Regions from separate parts of the Homo sapiens genome. Here all the other regions are linked to region 4. The links are contacts of gene promoters, found by promoter capture Hi-C in blood cells and fetal thymus (Javierre and others, 2016). All regions are on one chromosome and are shown on one strand. Each heading gives the region's core, a stretch centred on a gene start or on the middle of the fragment in contact. The rest is flanking DNA. Distances are from core to core; before and after follow the strand shown. Region 1 has its middle 160 kb from the start of VRK2. Region 2 has its middle 120 kb from the start of VRK2. Region 3 has its middle 180 kb from the start of VRK2. Region 4 holds the start of FANCL (FA complementation group L). Region 5 has its middle 230 kb from the start of VRK2. Region 6 has its middle 140 kb from the start of VRK2. Region 7 holds the start of LOC105377628 (a long non-coding RNA gene).

Region 1 (3,182 bases), core at 76-2,575, 350 kb after region 4:
TAACACTAATTGCTTATTTCTGTGATCCATAATTTTTATGGCTGCCTTATAGCTCTTTAGTCAAATAGATGCTTTTTGGCCTTTAAGATCTAGAACTCATGTACTGTAGCAATTGAAACTGGAAATGCACATGCTGGTCTGAGAGGCTTTTCTGTACTTGATTAATAGGATGCAGCAGAAAAATAATTGAAAGATGTGAAAGAAAATAGAAGTCTTAAATCAGCTCTAACAGGTAAACATTAGATTTGATCAATATTTAGATCACTTTAAATAAATAAATAATTATATGGCTGTGTATAAAATGAAATTAGGCTGTAAGGTCTTCTCTGGCTTTGATGCATTTGGGGGCCTGTTGAGCACAAAGGTGACAGTGGAAATCATGGTTGTGTGTGAGCACAGCTAACTGAGATGAAGATCACATCTGACCCTGGGCTTTGCCACATATTGACCATGTGACTGTGTGATCTTGAGCCAGTGATTCAACATTTTTGAGTTTAGGTTCCTCTCAGAAATGCTAGGATGACTCAATGGATGTGAAAGCACTTTGCTAACTGTAAAGTATTAGACACTCTGTTAGTGATTATCTGTGCCTGATCCCTGTTTGGGGCCATTATGACATGCTTTCTCATGGATAACCTTATAGAAACCCAAAATAATACTGTAGTTGTCCAAGAACATATGCAGTCCTTTGCTACTCAAAGTGCAGCCTGTGGACTGGTAGCATCAGCATCACCTGGGAGCGTGTTAGAAATGCACAATCCCAGGCCCCACCCTGGACCCACTAATCAGAATCTTCATTTTATCAAAATCTCCTGGTGATTAGTATGCACATGAAAGAATTGAGAAGCCCTGATCTAGTCTAACTTATTTCATACAAAAGAAAGGTGACATTCAGCAAAGTGAAGTGGTTCACAAGAGGTCACATAGTATGCTCAGAACTAAGCCACGATGACAGCCCAGGTCCTCTGACCCTAAGTCTAATCCATGATGTCTCCACCACAAAATACAGAGGATTTCATTTTATCTTGTGACAGATTTCATATTGACTATGTCGGCCCAAAAGTGGGTAATATATTTGTAGCCTAAAATAGGGTAAGTCTAAAAAGTCATAGGTTTCTGCTTGCTTTGGTCAAATAGTAAAATAAAAATCAAAGCAAATAATCAATAGGTTGTATTACTGAGCTTAAATTGTATGCAAAAAGTATCTAGAATACTCCTAGATTTCTATTTATAAAGTTCATTAGATACATTCTTAAATTTCTCAGATTGAAGGATTTAACATATATGCTCTTAAATTCAGAAAAGATGCAACTGCAATGATCACAGGGACCTAGTATTCAATTTTTATATTTGTATCCAGCATTCTAGCTATTATGATCTTTTTGGTAGAAAAAAAGAGATGATGATTATGTATAATAAATATATTTCTCCTATTCAAAGAGTAATACACAAAGCACTGTGCCCAAAGAGAGGTGCCAAAGGATCTTACAAGCAATAGCTTAAAAATGCTCACAATTCCCTGATAAGATATACACATAGGTATGCAGTTTTGAAAAATACCACTAGATTGGTTTCATTATACACACACAAACACACATCGTATATACTATGTTATTAGACACTCTTGTAATATTTCTTACATTTATTAAGAGTTGAATGGATGGAACAGGAAGGCATTATGTTAGGTTAAATAAGCCAGACACATAAAGACAAATATCACGTGTTCTCATTCATATGTGGGAGCTAAAAAAAAAAGAAAAAAAAATTGAACTCACGGAGATAGAGAATAGAACTGGTGCTTACGAGAGGGTGGGAAGAAAGCAGGGAAGCCCATATGCAGTGGGGATGGTTAATAGGTACAAAATACGTTAGATATAATGAATAAGATCTCATATTTAGTAGCACAATACGGTGACTATAGTTAACAATAATTATATAATTTAAAATTACTAAAAGGGTGAAATTGGAATGTTCCTAACACATAGAAATGGCAAATGCTTGAGGTCTGTATACCCCAATTACCTTGATACTTTGTATGCCTGTATCAAAATATCCCATGTACGCTGTGAATATATACAACTATTATGTGTTCATAATAACTAAAAATAAAAAATTTAAAAAAGAAGAAAGTCACTAAAGTCTATTTTTTTTTTAGAAAAACTTGAATACTATGAACCACATACACATTATTATCTCATTTAATCTTCACCAAAATTTGATGGGGTACTGTTATCCTCATTTTATAGATGTAATGAGGAGCCTGGGGTTGAGGGAGGTCAAGAAAAGAACTTGCCCAAGGATACATAGCCAGCAAGATAAAACAAAGAGAGAAAGTTAATGTGAGGTTTAAGTGGACCTCCCAAATCAAAGTTGTGACTTGAAAGTAAGACTTTTGAGTTCTAACTTCTTAAATCCTGGTTTAATGTGGTCTCTTTGGATGTGAACCTCTACCATGACTTCCTGCAGTCGTATTGAGGTGGTGGTGGCCTTTTCTTCCTTTTGTACTAAGCACATAGATCTGTGAAACCACTGGCGCCTCTTGTCTAAGGAGTCAAGGTCTAGAGGTGTCTGTAGCTGGGGAAGGAGCCTTCAGCTGCTCTGCTCTTCGCAGTCAGACATTGCCTCCCTGAAGATTCAGAGTCCAGGTTCTTGGTTCAACAATTCTACTTCTCTAGTTCTGAGATTGATAATGAACAAGTGCTGCAATAAAAAATGCCAACATACTTGAGAATATTCTTAATGAAATCAGTTTCACAGGCTTTTGTAGAGAAGTACTGAAGCTGGGGAGGGGAGACAGAGCTAGCCAAAATATTTCTAGGTAGAGCTGTGGGAGCTTTATATCCGAAGGTGCAGAACTGAAGAGACATGATTGAGAGATAAAGGAGCAGGAAGAGACAACCTTTACTAGTAATTGCAGAGACAGTCTAAATAAAGTAGCAATTAATAAGCCAAATGATAAAATGATTGATCTAGAGCTTTCTCTCTAGCTTTCTTTTTTTAAGGAAACACAAGCAAACTTCAAATGTTCACTCCCATTTTATATGACACATCCTGCTCCTTGCTGATAGCCTTATGTGTGGAACCTCTAAAGCTGTACCTTGCCAAATGTTAACTAACAGTGTATGCTGAAACCTCATTATGAAAGGGGTATAATAAGAAAATAAGGAATATTGCAACCAGCT
Region 2 (3,268 bases), core at 84-2,583, 320 kb after region 4:
TAAGAAATCATCTGAAGGTGTAAAACTCAGTGGCAATAGTTACACAGAATATTATAACTGTAATTGTGGTTCATAAACTACTTATATCCTGAGTAGAAAGACTAAAATATGCCCATCAGTTTGGGAGGCCGAGGCAGGTGGATCATGAGGTCAGGAGTTCAAGAACAACCTGATCAACATGCTGACACCCCGTCTCTACTAAAAATACAAAAATTAACCCAGGATGGTGCCATGCACCTGTAATGCTAGCTACTCAGGAGGCTGAGGCAGGAGAATCTCTTCAACCCGAGAGGCAAAGGTTGCAGTGAGTCGAGATCACGCCACTGGACTCCAGCCTGGGCGATAGAGCGAGACTTCATCTCAAAAAAAAAAAAAAAGACTAAAATATGAAAAGATCAAAAATAATAGCTACAACAACTTTTCAAGACATAGGCAATACAATAAAATATAAATAGAAACAACAAAAAGTTCAAAAGTGGGGATAAGAAGTTTAAGTGTAGAGTTTTATTAGTTTTCTCTTTGCTTGTTTGTTTATGCAATTAATCTTTAGTTGTCATCCATTTAAAATAATGGGTTATAAGATATTATTCAGAAGCCTCCTGGGAACCTAAAAAAAATACGACAGACACACACACACACACACACACACACACACACAAGAAATTAAAACATATTACCAGAGAAAACTACCTTCACTAAAAGGAAGACAGGAAGAAAGGAAAGAAAGAAGTCTACAAAACAACTGGAAAACAAATAACAAAATGGTAGGATTAAGTCTTTACTTATAAATAAGAACATTGAATATAAAAAAACTAAACACTCTAATCAAAAAACACAGAGTGGCTGAATGGATAGAAAAACAAGACCCAGTGATCTGTGACCTACAAGAAATACACTTCATCTATAAAGACTGAAAAAAAAAGATGAAAAAAAGACTAAAAAAAGGGATGGAAAAGATATTCCATGCAGTGGAAACCAAAACAGAGCAGGAGTAGCTTTGCTTTATCAGACAAAATAGATTTCAAGACAAAAACTGTAAAAAGAGGCCAACAATAAGGTCATTATATCATGATAAAGGGGTAAGTTCAGCAAGAGGATAAAACAATTCTCTCTCTCTATATATATACACACACACACTATATATATACACACACTATATATATATATAATTGTATATATATACACTATACACACACACACACACACACACACACACATATATATATGTATATATATATGTGACACTGGAGGACACTGGAGGACCCAAATATATAAAGCAAATATTATTAAGGCTAAAGAGAGACCCCAATACAGTAGTAGCTGGAGACTTCAATACCCAACTTTCAGCATTGGACAGATCATCCAGACAGAAAATCAACAAAAAAGCATTAGACTTAATCTGCACTATAGAACAAGATGACCTAGCAGATATATACAGAACAATTTATTCAATGGCTGCAGGATATACATTTTTTCCTCAGCACATGGATTATTCTCAAAGATACCCTATATTTTAGCTCACAAAAAAGTCTTAAAAAATAAAAAAAAGAAATTATATCAGGTATTTTCTCTAGCCACAATGGAATAAAACTAAAAATCAGTATCAAGAGAAATTGTATTAACTATAAAAACACATGGAAATTAAACAGTATGCTCCTGAATGACCAGTGGGTCAATGAAAAAATTAAGAAGGAAATTAAAACATTTTTTTCAAACAAATGATAATGGAAACAGAACATACCAAAATTTATGGGATATAGTGAAAGCAGCGCTAAGAGGAAAGTTTATAGCTATACACATCTATATCAAGAAAGCCAAAAACCTCAAATGAACAACCTAACAATACATCTTAAAAAACTAGAAAATCAAGACAGCAAACCAAATTGAAAATTAGAAGAAAAGAAATAATAAAGATTAGAGAAAAATAAATAAAACTGAAATGAAAAATAATAAATCAGAGCAGAAATAAATGAAACTGAAATGAAAAAAATTCAAAAGATCAACAAAATGAAAAGTTGATTTGTTAAAAAGATAAAGTAGACAAACCTTGAGCCAGACTATTAAAAAAAGAGAGAAGACCCAAATAAATAAAAGCAGAAATGAAAAAGAAAAAATTTCAACAAATACCACAGAAATTTGCAGGATCATTAGAAGCTACTATAAGCAACTATATGCCAATAAATTGGAAAATCCAGAAGAAATGGATAAATGCCTAGACACATACAATCTACCAAGATTGAATCATAAGGAAATCCAAAACCTGAACAGACCAAGAACAAGTAATTAAATTGAAGCCATAATAAAATGTGCAAAGAAAAGCCTACAACCCAATGGCAGCACTGCCAAATTTTACCAAACATTTGAAGAACTAATATCAATATTACTCAAACTATTTTGAAAAAATAGAGCAGGAGGGAATACTTTCAAACACATCTACAAGGCCAGTATTACCCAGATACCAAAACCAGACAAAGATATATCAAAAAAAGAAAACTTCCAGCCAATATTTCTGATGAATATGGATGGAAAAATCCTCAACAAAATACTAAAACAAATTCAACAACACATTAAAAAGATCACTAATCATCACCAAGTGGAATTGATCCCAGGGATGCAAAGATGGAGCAACATAGGCAAATCAATGAATGTGATACATCATATCAACAGAATGAAGAACAAAAATCTATATGATCATTTCAATCGATGCTGAAAATGCATTTGATAATATTCAACATCCCTTCATGATTAAAAAAAAACCCTAAAAAAACTGGAGGTGGAAGCAACATACCTTAACATAATAAAGGCCATATATGACAGACCCACAGTTAGTATCACATAGATTGGGGAAAAACTAAAAGCCTTTCCTGTAAGATTTGGAACATGACAAGGATGGTCACTGGCACCACTGTTATTCAACGTATTACTGGAAAGGCTAGCTGGAGCAATCAGACAACAGCAAGAAGTAAAGGGCATCTAAATGGGATAGAAAGAAATCAGATTATCCTTACTTGCAGATGATGTGATCTTATATTTGAAAAAACCTAAAGGAAAACTATTAGAACTAATAGATTCAGTAAAGTTTCAGAATACAAGATCAACATACAAAAATCAGTAGCATTTCTATATGCCAAAAGTGAACAATATGAGAAAGGAGTCAAGAAATTAATCTCATTTATAATAGCTACAAATAAAATATCTAGGAATTACCTTAACCAAAGGAGTGAAAGATCTCTGCAATGAAAACTATAAAACACTGATGTAAGAAATT
Region 3 (3,436 bases), core at 415-2,914, 370 kb after region 4:
CTATTGGAAAAATTAAGATAATATATGCAAAGCATTTCACATAATACCTGAAACAAAAAGCTTACAGCCATTGTACCTTTTAATATCGCATTGTTGGGGTTCAGAACATATCAAACCAAAATATGACTAGGAGACGAGAATATGCCACCGCAAAATATACTTCTTTGGCATATTTTGAGCAGGTTATTTTTAGAAACTGTAGACACAGGAGTAGCTCTGAAAAGTTGCCCTTTTGTAAAGAAAATTTACATCTATAAAGGAAATCTATATTAGTAAAAGTATCTGTATTTGGAAAAGGGCTGTTCCTAGACCACTTTTATTACCTGAGAGACTTTTTATCTGCATAACAAGATGACATTCATTTACCATACATTTTCTCCCCTCACCCTCCCATAACTTGTCTCCACCACCCCACCAGGAGCCTCAGGCCCTAATTCCTTTCTGTAGCTCAGGATGCTATATAAGCTTCAAGCTTGATCTTCTTTGAGTCATATTTTTTTGTGGGACTCTCGTGTACTCATGTAATTAAATATGTTTTTTTTCCTTGTTAATATGTATTATGTCAATATAATGCATTGTCCACCCAAAGAACCTGCAAGATAAAGGGAAGCCATTTTTTTCTTCCCCTAGAGTACTCAGATCTGACTTTAAGCCTGGCCAGTGAAACATCTCAGAGTTGTTTTACTATCACATTTGCATTAAAAAGTTATATACTAGACTTCAAAGTTTAGGATATAGGTCCTACTTGTTTACTGATTGCATCCTTGATAAGTTAGTTATCTACAATTTGGACTAAGCCTTGCTCTGCATTGGGTCCTGTTGAAATCTATCTTCCATTCCTCCTCCTCAGCAGAGGGCAACTCCTCAGTCTTGCTGAACTAGCTGTGACATTTCAGAACTCCTGGATAATAAATCCTCCAAACTGGTTAGTGTGCACATGTGGTAGCTAATTTTTTTTCCTGACCAGTCTTTTGTATTATGAACAATCCATGTCCTAAATGCTAATTAGCTAAACTGGGGATCAAATAATTATCTTGGGTATAGAATATGATTTTTTTTAGAAGTGCTCAAATAAAATGCAAAATAGGCTAAAATCGTTTCTTTCAAGTGAGTAGAATACCTATCTTACAAATTGGCCAGAAAAGGTATTTACCTGATTGATGGTAACTGTCCTCAAAGATAAATCATAATTTAAACTTTTTAAGTGGTATTTGAAGACTGAACCATTAGAGTCAATGAGATTTGAGTGGCTAAAACTTCATGCCATGTTTTAAAGGATAAAACCTTGACCAAAAAAGTCACTGACTGTGTCTTTAGCCAAAACATTGTGGAAAATCATCTCAGCTCCTTGGGCAGATAATGTACATTGACAAAAAAGAAGCTAAATATAGTTTACAAATATTTTCTGATATTTAGGCAATATAATGCAATACTGAGCTTTAAAAAGGTAAGTCTACATGTATGTTTATTTGACAATTGAAATGTTTCAAGGAGACTGTTAGGTCCTTTCAGGTAGATAATGCGGAGAATGAAATTTATAGTTATGTCCAAACATATCTTTAGAAGACATGACATTCTCTAGTGACTCTACCATTCTAGTCTAACATGTCAACTCTTGTTCATGCCCTAGATTTTTTTTCACTCATTACCTCTCCATTTTATTTTTATGTTGTCTATTCATACTCTCCAATGTGAACTATTTGCTTTTCAAATGCACCTTACAAAAAACTGGCATCTTTATAGCTATGCTTAGGTGGTGACACTGGCTGAAAAAAGCAAGGGATTTTGAAATACGAGCCAAAATATCCTGGCATTCCAACCATCCATCAGGTACTAGAATCCGAGACCTGTCCTTAATATGTCTCTTTTTGAATACTTTTTGTGGCCAAAATGTCGTGTAAACTCAGTATCTGTTTAGGGATCTTGCTGGTAGCTAAACATGGGAATGTGGTTCAGTAGAATCGGTTCCGTTGCTTGTTATGGTTATATTTGCATATTTTCTTAAGGAAATGGTCTTAAAAAACAGGAGTCAGCCTTTAAGAGACTGCTTTTCTTTGGACATGTTGATGGAGGAGAGTTTTAGAGAAGGGGCTGAAAGCTGGAGGCGTATGGCTGGTTTCATCTTCCGTGTGCCTTTTTCACTGCCTGTCTTTAGCATCTCCGCTTCATTGCCCACGTGTCACCTGTGCTTAGCCATGAGGTGATATATCCTCTTCTATTCCAAAAACATTGATCTAAGTCTCCCTCCTTCCATTTTTTAATAAATCTTAGTGAAGCAATATAACATTCCAGGTCAGTCCTGTAGTGCTTTTCGGGCCTCGCTGGAGCGGCTGTTGCAGAGCATAGAAACTTGCTGGCACAATATTGCAAAGTGACTCTGTGGGGGCTGGACGACTTCCAGCCAGCAATGAACCACGGCCAAGAAACGCCAATATGGATAATGCAAACAAGAGAGATTTGGGGCACATTTCGATTTAACCATCTGATTTAATTGACAGAATAAATGCACCTGTCAACGGGTAATATTCTTGTGATTAGTTTTGGCTGTGATGATGAGATGATGTTAAAAGAATGTCAGAACAACCTGTCCTGGGACTCTTACAGGCAGTTTTGAGTGAGGGAAGGTCAGTTTTTAGCTAGTTCAAAGAAGCAGGATTATCTTCTTGTAATGTGAGGATATTTTATGGAGACAGTGAACATTTTATTTGGCGTTTTCCCTCTGTGCTTAGCCTTCACCACAAATCAGACAAAGTAGGGAATAGAGGCGCACAGAAGTAATTGGCTTTTGAATCAGTCTCTATGGCTACTGGGGATAGTCCTCATTTGGAAATGGACAACTCTAGGTATTAAGCTTAAACCTGCAACCGAGTGGTCTCACATTCCCCCACATTGTGGTTCTTTTTGCTACCAGAGTAAGCAATTTAAGTAGAATTTCAGTGGGATAAGGCCTTTAACTGAAGTCCTGTTTTCTTCAGAGAAATTGTAATTTATGATCTTAGACCAAGTATATTAATTAATGCTAATTTCATCATTAACCAGTTGCTGCCCAACTACAATCTCTTCTCTGGAAATTGTGCTTCTAATGTGGCTGATGACCAAATAAACAACTTTAATAATCTTCCCCAGGCTCTCTGACCTCTCTGAGCTATTTAACATTGTTGAACTTTTTCTCCTTTTTGAAAGTGCTACCTCTGTTGGCTTTCCTGAGGGAGCTTTCCTTTCATTATTCCTCTTTCTCTCTGGTCTCTTCTTCTTGGTTTCCTCTACTGATCATTCATTCATTCATTTATATTTTATTTTTTTGAATGACAAATAAGAATTGTATGTATTGTGTACACTAAGATATTTTGAAATGTGTACATATTGTGGAATGACTCAATTAAGCTAATATACTTACAATTTTTTGTGGTGAGAACACTCAAAGTCTTTGTGATTT
Region 4 (3,375 bases), core at 599-3,098:
AAAGATCTTAATTCACAGATAAATTATAAAGTGCTTGAAGTAAGGGACTATATGTTCTCTTAATCTTTGTGTTGATCCCACTTTTGCACAGCCTCTACTTTATTCTTATAGGAAAACATGTAGCATGGCCGTCCTTAATTACCGAGTTGCAAAATAAAGCAGGTGTTATGTCCTGCCCCTGCAGAGATCCTCAAACCTTAGCATGCATCAGAATCACCTGGAGAGCTTGTTAAAACGCAGACTGCTGAGCCCTATTGCCAGTGTTTGGGATTCCCGAGGTTTGAAATAGGGGCCTGTAGGGAATGAGAAACATCTTTCTTTCCTGTTGCTAGATTCCTGTTTGAGTCCCTTATAAGAAAAGACAGATTAATAAGAGAAAAGCGTGCAAATTTATTTAAGTTTTATGTGGCATGGGAGCCTTCAGAGATGAAGCCCAAAGAAACAGGAAAACCTGTGCATTTTTAGAAGGAACAGTGGACAGTTGTGGGGAAGTACGGTTGGACAAAGCATGGTCTAATGGTAATAAACTGGGGTAAGTTGTCAAAGGTCTTTTTGTTCAGATTCTTTTCTATGTCTCCGTTTCTTTAGAGATAAGGATATTTCTTTCCTGTGGGTATAGGAAGAGCACCTCTGGATTGAGGATCCAATGACCCGCCTCAGGGAAGAAGGATGGGAGAAGGTCAGAGAGTGATCTTAGGTTTTGTTGTTTTCTCAAATGTCAAGGGGCCATATTTTGGGGTAGCATATCCTGAACCCCATCAGCGGTGAAAACTTGTATTTCTACATAGTTCCCAGGTGATGCTGTTGCTAGGTTCTAGGATCACGTTTTGAGAACCACTGCTTTAATGTAATTTATATCTAACCACTGCTCCAGCATTCTTTTCTGTAAGCATCCAGAATGCTGTGACAAATTCTTGTCAAACTTTAAGAATCTTCAGGATGTCAAATTCTGTCTTGAGGTCAATAAAGATGGGTAGGGGACGAAATAATCTTTGCTCAACCTTTGGCACATTACAATGATGTTTTTCAAATAGTAGGGCTCAAACGTGATGCATTGGAAAATTGGAAAATTGGAAAATCAAATAATCATATGGTAAATATTTTAGTAGGTTTCTTATTTAATCAACTCTTAATAAGATGGGATGGATAACATTCCTGAGTTAGAAAAACATATTGCAAGCGCTGTCAGAGGAAAATTAAGTTCAAGTCCATCAGCAATCTTTACTCATGTTTTGCTTTATATATTTGTGAGTGCCGTACACAGAACTGAGTCCAGTGTTGACTTGAGTCTAATCAATACACATATACGTATACATGTGTGTGCCTCAAATATATCTGATTGAACTTAGTAAGCCACAGAACTGTAATATATATGATATAATCAATGTGTTATACATTATATTACAATAATTATACACAAAATAATACATTATTCTGTATGTTAAGGGAGAGAGGACAACAGCAAAGAAGACAGAGTGCTACAACGTCCAGGCTGTAAAAGTCATTTTATTCTGGAGGAAATGCAACACCAAAGTTGTAACAGTCTTTCAATAAAGTAAAACAGAATCATCGAAAGGGCTCCTGGGACAATTGAGGCTAGAATGATCTTGGTCAGTCAGTCCTGTGGACTTGAGGGCAATCTTCCCTCCCACTACCGGTTGGGGAGCCCTGATGTCGCCTCCCGCAGAGCGCCACTTGGCCTGGCCTGCGCTTCACCTTCATTTCCGCCCGCGGAATCCTCCAGGATCTTCCCGCCAAGGCTGGGGTTTCCGCTCCGCGGCGTCCGAGCGCCAGCGGACTGCGCATGTGCAGGACCCAGCAGGTCTAGAGCTTTTCTGTGTTTCTCCGGACTTCGAGCCATGGCGGTGACGGAAGCGAGCCTGTTGCGCCAGTGCCCCCTGCTTCTGCCCCAGAACCGGTCGAAAACCGTGTATGAGGGATTCATCTCGGCTCAGGTACCCGCCCAGTGGTTGCTTTCTAGCTAAGAGAGCCTCTTGCAGCGTAGCTGCGCGGAGAAGTCTGTGACGGGCTAGGAGGTTAGGGGCCCAGACTTGTGGGGATTGAGAGGGGCGGCGCGTAACGGCTCTTGGGAGACTAAAGGTTTGAGAAGCGCCGCTGTCGCCGCCACCCCGGTGGTCGCCGCGCTGGATGGGGAGCGAGGAGGCGCGCGGCGTGGAGCGGGGCTGGGGCCACGCCTCCTCTCTCCCTAGCCCTTCCCCGAGTTTGGCTTCCTTCTTCGTTCAGTGTCCCGCAATTGACTGTTTTTTAATTTTTTTTTTGTAAATTTTGCCTTAACTCGATTTTAACACCCTCCACCTCCACGGATGTTGATGAGTTCACTCGGGAATCTGGGCTAATTATTTTCGTGTTTCCTGTAGAAAGAACATTTGGGAAGAAAACCTTATTTTGGCCCTTTGCCAAGTCGTATGTACCTGTACACCCACAGTTACAATATCTTCTAGGAGAAGCATGACAGCAATGGAATTAATTAACTTTGCTGATTCCAGTGGCCTCTCATATGGAGTTTATTACACATACTAACACATGTGTAGGGTTTTGAAGTTTACAAAGCGCTTTCCAGGTAAATAGTTCACTTAATCCTCAGCCCTTTGAGGCAGAAATTTTTAAAAGAATCATCATTCCCATTTTCTAGTTGAAGAAATCAAGGTATGGGAAACCGGAGACGTTATTTGCTGATGATCACATCAGAATCCCTTAAACGCAGGCTGTGTGATTTCAGTCCTGGATTTTTTTCTCTTTACATTGCACCAGGATACCTTAGGTTAGGAGTGTAGACTTTTCCTTTCTGACCATTACACTCAACCTTGTGCCCACTTCCCCACCATCACGCATAGTCTTTGAGTATATGTGGAATTACCATATGACCATCACAGAAAGTAGAGGTTAAAAATTCATTATTCCATATGGAAAAAAGTTAATCCACCTTTCCCTCTCCAATTAGAAGTATTCTTCTTGAATTACCTAGCTGAAAATATGATTCTCTTGTAGACAACATTTAGAAAAGTTGAAAAATTTTAAGTTACTTTTTTTTTTTTTTTTTTACAGGAAGCATGTTATACCTAATTTTAGGCAAAATACTGTTATGTATGTCTATATCTGCTAAGGCCTTTTAGGAAACAAGTACACCCATTAGAATTGAGATTAGATGAAAGTTTCTTTTATGACCATTGCTATAGCTAGAATTCCAATTTGTACCTGCCTTAGCAGTTTATTTAAATCTTAAACATTTTACGTGTCTAAAAATATTTTGTATATATTTTAAATTTACAGAAAAGTAGCAAGGATATACAGTACAAGTAATTCCAGTATACCCTTTACCTAGATTCACCAGTTTACATTTTCTCCATTTTACTG
Region 5 (3,066 bases), core at 115-2,614, 430 kb after region 4:
AATATATCCACTGAGTTCTTAATTTGTAATATTATATTTTGTATTTCTACCATGTAAATTCCATTTTTATAGATTGTAATGCTCTAATAAAACATATCATATTTTCATTTATTTATCTATCTTTTCCTCAATTTACTGTCATATTAGTGATAATTACTTTCAAGACCTTGTCTGCTAACTTCAATAACTGAAGCATCTCTGGATAAGCACATAATTTATTTTTGATTATCAATCATTTACTCCTGTTTCCTTGCATGTGTAGCAATTTTTAATTGTATTTTTGATATTGTGAATGATATTTTGTATAGAATCTCAAGGATTTTATCACCCACTGATGAGGGTTCAGTTTTGTTCTGGGCAATAATTGCATTTCAGGTGGATAATCTAGATTATCATGTGGAGGGTTGGTTTTAGGCTTTAATAGGGTGTGTCTATTTTGATATTGCCCTTAATTCTGTGGTATAGGCCTTACTCCTAGGGCATGGTGTTTCTAGGATCTCAAAAAAAATTCCTGGGTATTCACCAAAGATATTTTTCTTTGGCTGGGGTTGATCTCCAACATCGATCCCATTTTGTGCAATATATGAAATTTCTGTTTCAATCTAAGCCCCTCAGTAACAATTTCTGCTAGAATTCCTGAAATCTTGTCCTATGTGTGTTCAGGTTAATAGTTAGCCAAAGGCTTTAATGATACCACTACATCAATATTTTTTGCTCCTGGATTGATGCTTTCTTCTCTCTAATTTCCTGATTTCCAAACTTCAGTCTCCTTAACAGCTCTGTTTCCTCTGCCTCGTGGACTTGTAATTCTTCCATTTACAGCAGATTAGAAAATATGCCCAGGAAGAAAACAAGGGTAAATGTGAGGCTTAATTTGGCACTTCCCTTCTCTCAAGGATTGCAGTCATGTGATCTTTGCTGCCAGTGCCTCAAAACATGTTTGTTTGTTGGTTGGTTTTTAATTTTATAATTGTCTGTGGCAAAAGCTTATTTGTTTCAAATGTCCTTTGGGTCTTTGGTAAGATTCATCTTTTCATTCCCCCTTAATATTACTTTATTATACATTCTCTTTTTCCTGATCATTTATAACAGAAGACTATCAATTTCTTATTCAAATAAAGAAGTTTGCATTTGTTAATCTTCTCACTATTTGCTATTATCTTTACTATTTTCTTCCTTCAGCTCTGTTTTGTTTCTTCTTCTCTTCTTGGGATGGATGATAATCTTAATTTTAGCTTTTTAATTTTACTAATATGCACATCCAGAAATATAAATATTCTTCTTGGTTTTGCTTTAGCTATATCACTCAGATTTTTCTAGGTAGTATTTTTTAATAGTCAGTAGAAAATATTATCTATCTTCTCATAAGTACTTTAGATGTAAATATTTCTTAATTTAGAAATACATGTAATATTCTACTTTGTTGTTGATTCCTAGTGCAATTACAGTTGATTTAGAGAAAAAATGCTCTACGATATTAAACATTTGAAATTTTTCTGATTTGTCAGTACATATGAGTATATGGTCAATTTTTGTAAGTCTTGTGTCCTCAAAAAGAATGTGTAGTCTCTAATTCTATGTATGTCCAATAAGTCAAATTTATTAATTGTGTTCTTTAAATTCTAGGTTGACAATTGTTTTATATCAGTATTTTAAATATATGATATTATTCTCTTTTAGCTTCCAATTTTAGTATTAAGAAAACTTTTGTTAGTCTTACTGTCTGACTTTAAAGAAGCTTCCTTTTGAATCTCTAATTAGGTATGTATGTACACATGTATTGTACCTTTCCAGGGATCCTCTAAATATTTGCTTTCTATTATGTTTTCTTTTTCCTTGTCTTTCACTGCTTCATTATGGGTAGTTTCTTCTGATTTTTATTTCATTTCTAATTTCTTTAGTTCCTAAGTCTATTAAGTTCTTAATTTTGTCCTTAATTTTTGTCTTTGTAATTTTCTTTTCTAGAATTTTTACTTGACTCTTTATCAGATCTGATATTATGTAATATATTTACCACTTCATTTCTGAATTTTTCAAATGTAGCTTTTGTCTCTAACAAAATGAGTTGTTCTACAGTGTTAATTTTTATAGTGTCTAATAATCACAGAACCTGGATTTTCTGTAGGTCTGTAAATATTGCCCATTTTATTTTTTCTGTAGGTTTTTTCGTCTAGTCTTACCTCTTTTATACTTGGTATATTGGATGTGTACTTAAAACATTATTTTAAAAAATATTTTAAGGCTTAGGATAATGCTATTTTCGTTTATCTAGAACTTTTGTTTCCTTTTGCCTGGCACCTAGGGAAAGATAGCAATCTCTGATTTTCTTTATCCATATTCAATGTTTGAAAATTCCTGGGCCAATCAGAAGACTAAAGTTAGGCTGCAGTTTCTGTGAGAACCAGTTTACTTCTGGTTCACTTTACTCAAAATATGCAGCTCTTCACAATCTCAACCCAAAATAGGATTGGTGTAGCTGGGTTTCCACCTTAGTTGCATTCAGGACTCTTAACTTCTAAGACAAACGAAATCTTACTTAGTTTTACCTCTCACCACTTTTTTCAAGTAGACAAATGGCTTTATGGCTAAAAGCTATTCTCTCTGGACAGGTGATAGTTTTTAAACCCAGCTTGGTAGTTCCTTATTCTTCTGTTAGCTATGTAAAACTTTTAAGAAGATTGAAAGTATTTTAACTCATTGTAACTCATTATATTGTATTTCATATGGTTACTTCAAAATATTTACTCTCCCACTAATGGAAACAAAAGGTCATCTACTTTGGTTCCCTGTAGATATCGATTTGACCCAATATAACATTTTGAAAAGACCAGCTTCTGCCTGCTGATCTGCAGTAACACTCTTCTCATAAATCAAGAATCCACATATTGATTGTTTCTGGACCCTCTAAACTGTTTCACTGGACTATTCTGTCTTGCACCAATGCCACAATATTAATTATTTTGTACTTACAGTAATAAATGTCTAGCAAAGTCCTCTCACTTTGTTTATTCTTTGTTTTTCAATATACATCTTAGAATTGTCTTATTTTCATAAAAATGCTGCTGG
Region 6 (3,330 bases), core at 213-2,712, 330 kb after region 4:
AATCGAGACATTCGCCAGGAGATGGAGAGATTACATTTACCTGAGTGTAGCAAGGAAGGCTTATTGGAAGCAGAGAGATTTGACTTGGCTCTTGAAGGATGAGAAGAATATGGATAGAGTCAGTGAGAAGCATCTTGTAGGATGAAGGAAATAGCATACTTTCCCCATGAGGACAATCAGAGAAGTAGGATTCTGGATGGAAGTTGTGAACTGAAGCGTGTGAATAGCCAGGGTTGGAGGGAGTTTAGGATGTTTGAAGTGGTTGTAGTTGCTCTGTTTGGAAATGCTAGTTGTTTATTTGAGCTGAGGGAGATTATGACAAAAAGCTTTTTGAAAACAATGAATCTGGCAGAGCATAGGGTGAGTTGGAGTTGAGAGATAGAAGACTATTGTGACAGTCATTGGAGATGTTCCAACATAGGCTAGTGACAACTTTGCAAATGTTAAGGGAGAATGAAGCATTAAACATGGAGTAGATGGAATTTTAAAGTCCCTTCCAGCCATAAGTTACAGAAGTAGAGTAGAATACTAGGCTATGAAGTCACATTGTCTAATTTGCATGCTGGTTCCACCACTACTGACTATCACCTTGGGTGAATTACTTAGTTCTAAAAGTCCTCAGCTGGGTGCAGTGGCTCACGCCTATAATCCCAGCACTTTGGGAGGCAGAGGCGGGAGGATCACGAGGTCAGGAGTTCAAGACCAGCCTGGTCAACATAGTGAAATCCCGTCTCTACTAAAAATACAAAAAAAAATTAGCCGCACGTGGTGGTGGGCACCTGTAGTCCCAGCTACTTGGGAGGCTGAGGCAGGATAATCGCTTGAACCTGGGAGGTGGAGGTTGCAGTGAGCCGAGATCGCGCCACTGCACTCCAGCCTGGGTGACACAGCAAGACTCTGTCTCAAAAAAATAAAAATAATAATAAAAAAAGTCCTCCATGGCTTTTCTCATCTGTAAAACAGGAAAACTTTTAGAATTTATTTCATCATATTTGTGTAAGATTTAAACAGTGTACATATGTGAAGCCCTTAGCATAAGACATCACACAGATAAGACCTCAATACATGTTTGCCTGCACTGTGCAGTTTATAGACATTGAGGTTTTAAACTGTGTTAATACAAAGGGGAGAAAATGGGCTAGGTGGAAAAAACAGCGCTGAGGTAAAATTCACAGGATTTGTAACTCATTAAATGCAGATCAAAGTGAGGCAGAGGACCAGGAGAAATTAACAAAAACTCAACATTGTAAGTAAGAGTGCTTAACTATGACGATTAGATTCCTTCTTTTCAAAATTAGAAAGGGAGGCCCCACCCCCATAATATTTTCCTTTTCTAATTGACATAGTTAAAACATATAACTTAAATTTATGAATTCAGAATACATTTTTTCGTGAACAGAATTGTTTATAAATTGCCTGCTTCTATTTTGGGGAAAAAATAAGGCATTTGACTTTTTCCCATCTGAGTAACAAATCTTAGACAAAAGTGATCTTCCCCACATTCCTATGGACACTGAACAAGCATTCAGTACTTAGTGCAACAGCATAGACTAGTGGTAGGAAGGAAGATTGTAATGAGGACGCCCAGACACTACTTTTTATCTTATCCAGGGCACATTTTAGTTTTAAGCTACACTTAGAACAAAATTATCTATAGCTGTAGTAACAGACTATTTGACAAAATAAAACTGGTTTAAGGTAATTTTAAGTACCTCGTGGCTTGTTTACTAATTACTAGAATCTTTGAGAAGTACTTATTTCTTTCTCTTTTGACTGCTGTAAGGAATAATCACATATTCAAATGTTTTTTAAAAAGTATTTCCTTTCCTTCAGTTGAAGACTTCAGCTATTTTAAATAAATTATGTCTCAAGAATATTAGTTTAATTTGTATCATGGGGGCTAATGGTATTAATTTTCCTGCATCAATTTTTTTTATCCAGATAGGTGCTATATATCAACACTTACGTACACTAGGAACACTATAGAGGCAAATAAAATTAATTCAGAATCAGATCCTGAATTTAGAATTGTATAATCAAACATGTATACAACTTATAGAATATGGAAAAATATGCTGTATTACCAATATGGACCAAAGAATAAATGCTGTATTACCAATATGGACAAAATAAATAAATGCTATATTACCAATCTAAAGAGCCATGGAAGCAGAGAGGATAGAGGGATTAAACTCCTTTGAGAAAAAAAAATCCTTGCAGGATTTTGTACTTAGGATATTGCCCAGCACAGACTGGACATTCAGTAAACATTTGCTTAATAAATGAATGATCTATAAATGATCTCCCAAATCTTTGGGGTTATAAACATAACCGTTGTTTTATGACTTCTCATGGATTCCTGTGGGTTGGAATTTGGGAATGGTCTGAGCTGGGTGGTCTTTCCTAGTGTTGTGGCCAGTTGTTTGCTACAGCTAGTGCTAGAGCTGGAGGATGGGAGGTCGAAGCAGCTGGAGGCTGCCATCATCTCTCACTCTTTGTGTAGCCTCATGGCCTCTCCATGCAGCTTCTTCTTTTGGGTGGGTTTAGTCTGCCTTACAGCATGGTGGCCTCAATGCAGTCAGACTTCTTGCAAGCTTTCAGGAACAAGTATTTTAGCCAACAAAGCAGAAGCTTCTTGGTCATTAATGACCTAGACACAAAAAGTCAATAACATCATTTCTGCCATACACTGTTAGTCAAAATAGTCACAAAGCCAGCCCATTTTTAAGGTAGGAAACACAGACCATTTCTTCATGGGAATAGTGTCCAAGTCACATTTAAGAAGGGTATGTGAGATGGAGGTATTGTTGTGACTGCCTGTGGAAAACAGAATCAGCAGAGTGATTTCAATGTTCATTTTTAAGCCACGTAATGAGTGTTTCTTACACCTTTTTGTCTTTTTTTTTTTTTAACAGAATATGTCATAAAACTCTAACAAAAATTTGGAAGTGGATTTGGAATCAGAAGTCAGAGTAGATTATTTATGAACTCTCCAATTTCTACCCAGTTTTGTGTAGTGTTTCTTTAAAATTTCTAACTTTTTTAATATGTAAAGTCTTGATTTAGGCTGTGTCTATGTGACTGTGTGCTAAACAACTGCAAATAAAACAACCTGTCTAATTAGGTCACTACCATGATAAAAAAAATTAATCTATCAAATTTACTGTTTGGCATGACATAATAAGAAAAACAACAAACCAGAGAAACAAACTGAAACAAAGAAAAACAAACACACATACACAATACCCCCAAGCAAATCAAGACAAACACTTATCTCATGTGTAATTTACTTAACTCTTCATTTGTCAACATGTTTCTTTGATATGGCAT
Region 7 (3,066 bases), core at 451-2,950, 450 kb after region 4:
GGAGAAAATGTTTGCAAACTACCCCTCTGACAAGGGATATATAACCAGAATATATAAGGAGCTCAAACAATTCTATATGAAAAAAATCTAATAATCTGGTCAAAAGATGGGCAAAATATTTGAATAGACATTTCCCAAAAGAAGACATGCAAATGACAAACAGGCATATGAAAGGTGCTCAACATCATTGATTATCAGAGAAATGCACATCAAAACTATAATGAGATATCATCTCGCCCCAGTTAAAATGGCTTATATCCAAAAGACAGGCAATAACAAATGCCAGCAAGGATGTGGAGAAAAGGGAACCTTGTACACTGTTAGCGGGAATGTAAGTTAGTACAACCACTATGGTGAACAGTTTAGAGGTTCCTCAAAAAACTAAAAATTAAGCTACCATACCATCTAGCAATTCTCCTGCTGCATATATATCTCAAAGAAAAGCAATCTGTATATTGAAGAGGTATCTGCACTCCTATGTTTGTTGCAGCATTGTTTACAATAGCTAAGATTTGGGAGCAACCTAAGTGTCCATCAACAGATGAAAGGATAAAGTAAATGTGGTACTTATACACAATGGAGTACTATTTAGACATAAAAAAGAATGAGATTCAGTCATTTACCACAACATGGGTGGAACTGAAGGTCATTATGTTAAGTGAAATAAGACAGGCACAGAAAGACAAACATCACATATTTTAACTTATTGGTGGGATCTAAGAATCAAAAATATTTGAATTCGTGTACATAGAGAATATAAGGATGTTTACCAGAGGCTGTGAAGGGTAGTGGGGAATTAGTGGAGAGGTGGGGGTGGTTAATGGATACAAAAAGAAATAGGATAAATAAGACCTACTATTTGCTAGCACAACAGGATAACTGTAGTCAATAATAACTGAACATTTTAAAATAACTTAAAGAGTGTAATTGGATTGTTTGTAACTTAATGGATAAATGCTTGATGGGATGGATATTCCATTCTTCATGGTGTGCTTATTTCACATTGCATGCTTATATCAAAACATCTCATATACCTTATAAATATATATAACTATACCCACATAAATTAAAAATAAAAAAATTAAAAAGGGAAAACCATAGGTTTGACTACATAAAAATGTAATAATTTTTGAATGGAAAAAACATCCTTGGAGAAAATAACCTAGAAAAACTATTAGCAGCAACTATTTCAGAGACATTGCATCTTCATGGTCAAAGAATTCATATAAGTTGACACCTAGAATGCTAAAATCCTAATAGAAAAGTGGACCAAGTACAGATTAGAAAAGTTACAAGATAATTTTTAACATATTAAAAAGTTCAATTTAACTAGGAATTAGATATGTACCCATAAACACACCAATGATTTAAATGAAGTTGTTGAGATTTTGTTGAATATCCTTCCAGTCTGTGTTATCTATCCTATCTGTACCTATTGCTTGATCTGTCCATCTATGTACTTACTTTGTATGTCACTCTTCATCCATTTAGCTATCCATCCATTTACACATTTTTTTTGAAAAGAGATCATAATGTATACTTTTTTTTGTTTTTTCCGTTTAACGTATTTTGAACTTCTCATATCATTGTACGTTCATTACGTTCAAATCTTTGCATCTTGTTACACTGCATGGATGTACCGTAGCTTATTCAAATGAGCTGTCTTACTGGGCACTTATGTTGCTTACACTTTTTTAACAGTTACATATTGAACATCATCACACTGATCAGATTATTTCTAAAGGTAAATTTGGAAAGGTTGGTTTTGCTGTTTAAAAAGTGTGCAAATGTTTCAGACTTTTGCTGCATATTGCTAAATTATTCACCTTTCTACCAGTAATACATCAGAGTAAGCACTCGCAAATTCTTGTAAACACTGGCTAGTATAGTTAGAATTTTATGTCAGTAAAAATGATTGGCAATATCTTACTTTTTTACTTCGCTTTTTTTGATTATTAAAGTGACAAACATTATTTTGTGGTTTTTGGTCATTTTTTGGTGAAATTCCTAATCATATCACTTCTCCCAATTTTTCCTTTGATATATTAATCTTTTCATTATTTATAAAGGTTACATTTATATTTAGGTAAATATGCCTTTGAATTATGTAGATTTTTTTATAGAGAGAAATTTTTTAAAATCTTTAATTAACAAACTTACCAGCTTTGTGCTTCATGGTTTCTACTTTCAGTGTTATAATTATAAACCCCTACTGGAAACCAAGATTATATTAACTAGAAGGAGAATATTTTGATTCATCTATTCCATTTTCCTCCAGGTTTATAGTTGGATCTTTCATTATAGAATGTATGATCAATGGGATTTTTTAACATAGAGCCTTAGAGGAAAACTCAGGACCACCTGGTTTTTAATTAAAATGAATTCTTTTAGAAGATTATATTGTGAATATAGCTTCCTAGTGACTTCCTTCTTAGTATTCAAGTTGGGCTCACTGGAAGGACTGAATTGTATTAAGATCTTAGGTTAGCATAATTATTTTTAATGTTAATGTTTTTATATATAGTGACCGAGTTATTCTGGATTTGACTAAGTAACAATATACTACTTTAGTAACTCACTTGAGTTTTGTTTTGTGAGGAAATTTTATTACTCAACATTCATATCTTAGAAGGTCAAATTATTCTAGAAGATACTGCTTTGATTTTAGAGGAACAGGTTTATTGATCTGGTGAGAAAATCACTGGTGAGTGAATCCCAAGCATTCACTAAATTAGTAAATTTAAAACATGATAACTGCTATGGATTGAAAGGTGATCCTTGTTTTGAAGGAATTGAAAAGGAAAAGTAATCAATACGTTTGTGAGAAGGTATATCAGGATGCCTGGCTTGGCTTTTTCTAAACCACATAACACTTCCCACTCTATTCTACTGGCATTGAGTGTATTATTAGTCGCATGTGTGTTTGCATTGGAAAGACAGTGAGTATCAATGCTCTATCACCAAGGACAGTGTGTTTTAATCACTTGGATCTTCTTAATAAAAAATACAGATTTTGAATTTGTGGGTTTTGACTGGACCTGAGATTCTGCATTCCTATTAAGTCTC

What was found. The method cuts DNA at HindIII sites, captures the fragments that hold promoters and counts their contacts. A CHiCAGO score of 5 or more calls a contact.
Region 1: a fragment that was not itself captured here is called in contact with the fragment with the promoter of FANCL in region 4 in 10 of 17 cell types (M2 macrophages, total B cells, M1 macrophages and 7 more); the score reaches 7.6 in M2 macrophages.
Region 2: a fragment that was not itself captured here is called in contact with the fragment with the promoter of FANCL in region 4 in 1 of 17 cell types (activated CD4 T cells); the score reaches 5.8 in activated CD4 T cells.
Region 3: a fragment that was not itself captured here is called in contact with the fragment with the promoter of FANCL in region 4 in 3 of 17 cell types (monocytes, endothelial precursors and total B cells); the score reaches 5.9 in monocytes.
Region 5: a fragment that was not itself captured here is called in contact with the fragment with the promoter of FANCL in region 4 in 2 of 17 cell types (erythroblasts and naive B cells); the score reaches 7.5 in erythroblasts.
Region 6: a contact is called between a fragment that was not itself captured here and the fragment with the promoter of FANCL in region 4, in 7 of 17 cell types (total B cells, M1 macrophages, M0 macrophages and 4 more). The highest score is 7.5, in total B cells.
Region 7: a contact is called between a fragment that was not itself captured here and the fragment with the promoter of FANCL in region 4, in 1 of 17 cell types (erythroblasts). The highest score is 5.4, in erythroblasts.

What each region holds. Positions count from the first base shown.
Region 1 is chr2:57,887,991-57,891,172 of GRCh38, reverse strand. No RefSeq gene overlaps it. Among named protein-coding and RNA genes, the nearest start is that of VRK2, 160 kb to the left of the region's middle. RefSeq lists a silencer at 587-636. The HindIII fragment of the contact is 4,477 bases long and covers 1-3,182 here.
Region 2 is chr2:57,924,389-57,927,656 of GRCh38, reverse strand. It overlaps a transcript of VRK2 not described here. Among named protein-coding and RNA genes, the nearest start is that of VRK2, 120 kb to the left of the region's middle. The HindIII fragment of the contact is 5,212 bases long and covers 1-3,268 here.
Region 3 is chr2:57,868,898-57,872,333 of GRCh38, reverse strand. No RefSeq gene overlaps it. Among named protein-coding and RNA genes, the nearest start is that of VRK2, 180 kb to the left of the region's middle. The HindIII fragment of the contact is 2,379 bases long and covers 475-2,853 here.
Region 4 is chr2:58,239,798-58,243,172 of GRCh38, reverse strand. It overlaps FANCL (FA complementation group L), which reads left to right and starts at 1,848. Exons shown (of 14, transcript NM_018062.4): 1 at 1,848-1,955. The coding sequence starts at 1,860. RefSeq lists an enhancer at 1,501-1,660 and a silencer at 2,201-2,250. The HindIII fragment of the contact is 7,787 bases long and covers 1-3,375 here.
Region 5 is chr2:57,814,216-57,817,281 of GRCh38, reverse strand. No RefSeq gene overlaps it. Among named protein-coding and RNA genes, the nearest start is that of VRK2, 230 kb to the left of the region's middle. The HindIII fragment of the contact is 752 bases long and covers 989-1,740 here.
Region 6 is chr2:57,904,550-57,907,879 of GRCh38, reverse strand. It overlaps a transcript of VRK2 not described here. Among named protein-coding and RNA genes, the nearest start is that of VRK2, 140 kb to the left of the region's middle. The HindIII fragment of the contact is 2,268 bases long and covers 329-2,596 here.
Region 7 is chr2:57,786,087-57,789,152 of GRCh38, reverse strand. It overlaps LOC105377628 (a long non-coding RNA gene), which reads left to right and starts at 77. Exons shown (of 3, transcript XR_940110.3): 1 at 77-3,066. The HindIII fragment of the contact is 4,814 bases long and covers 1-3,066 here.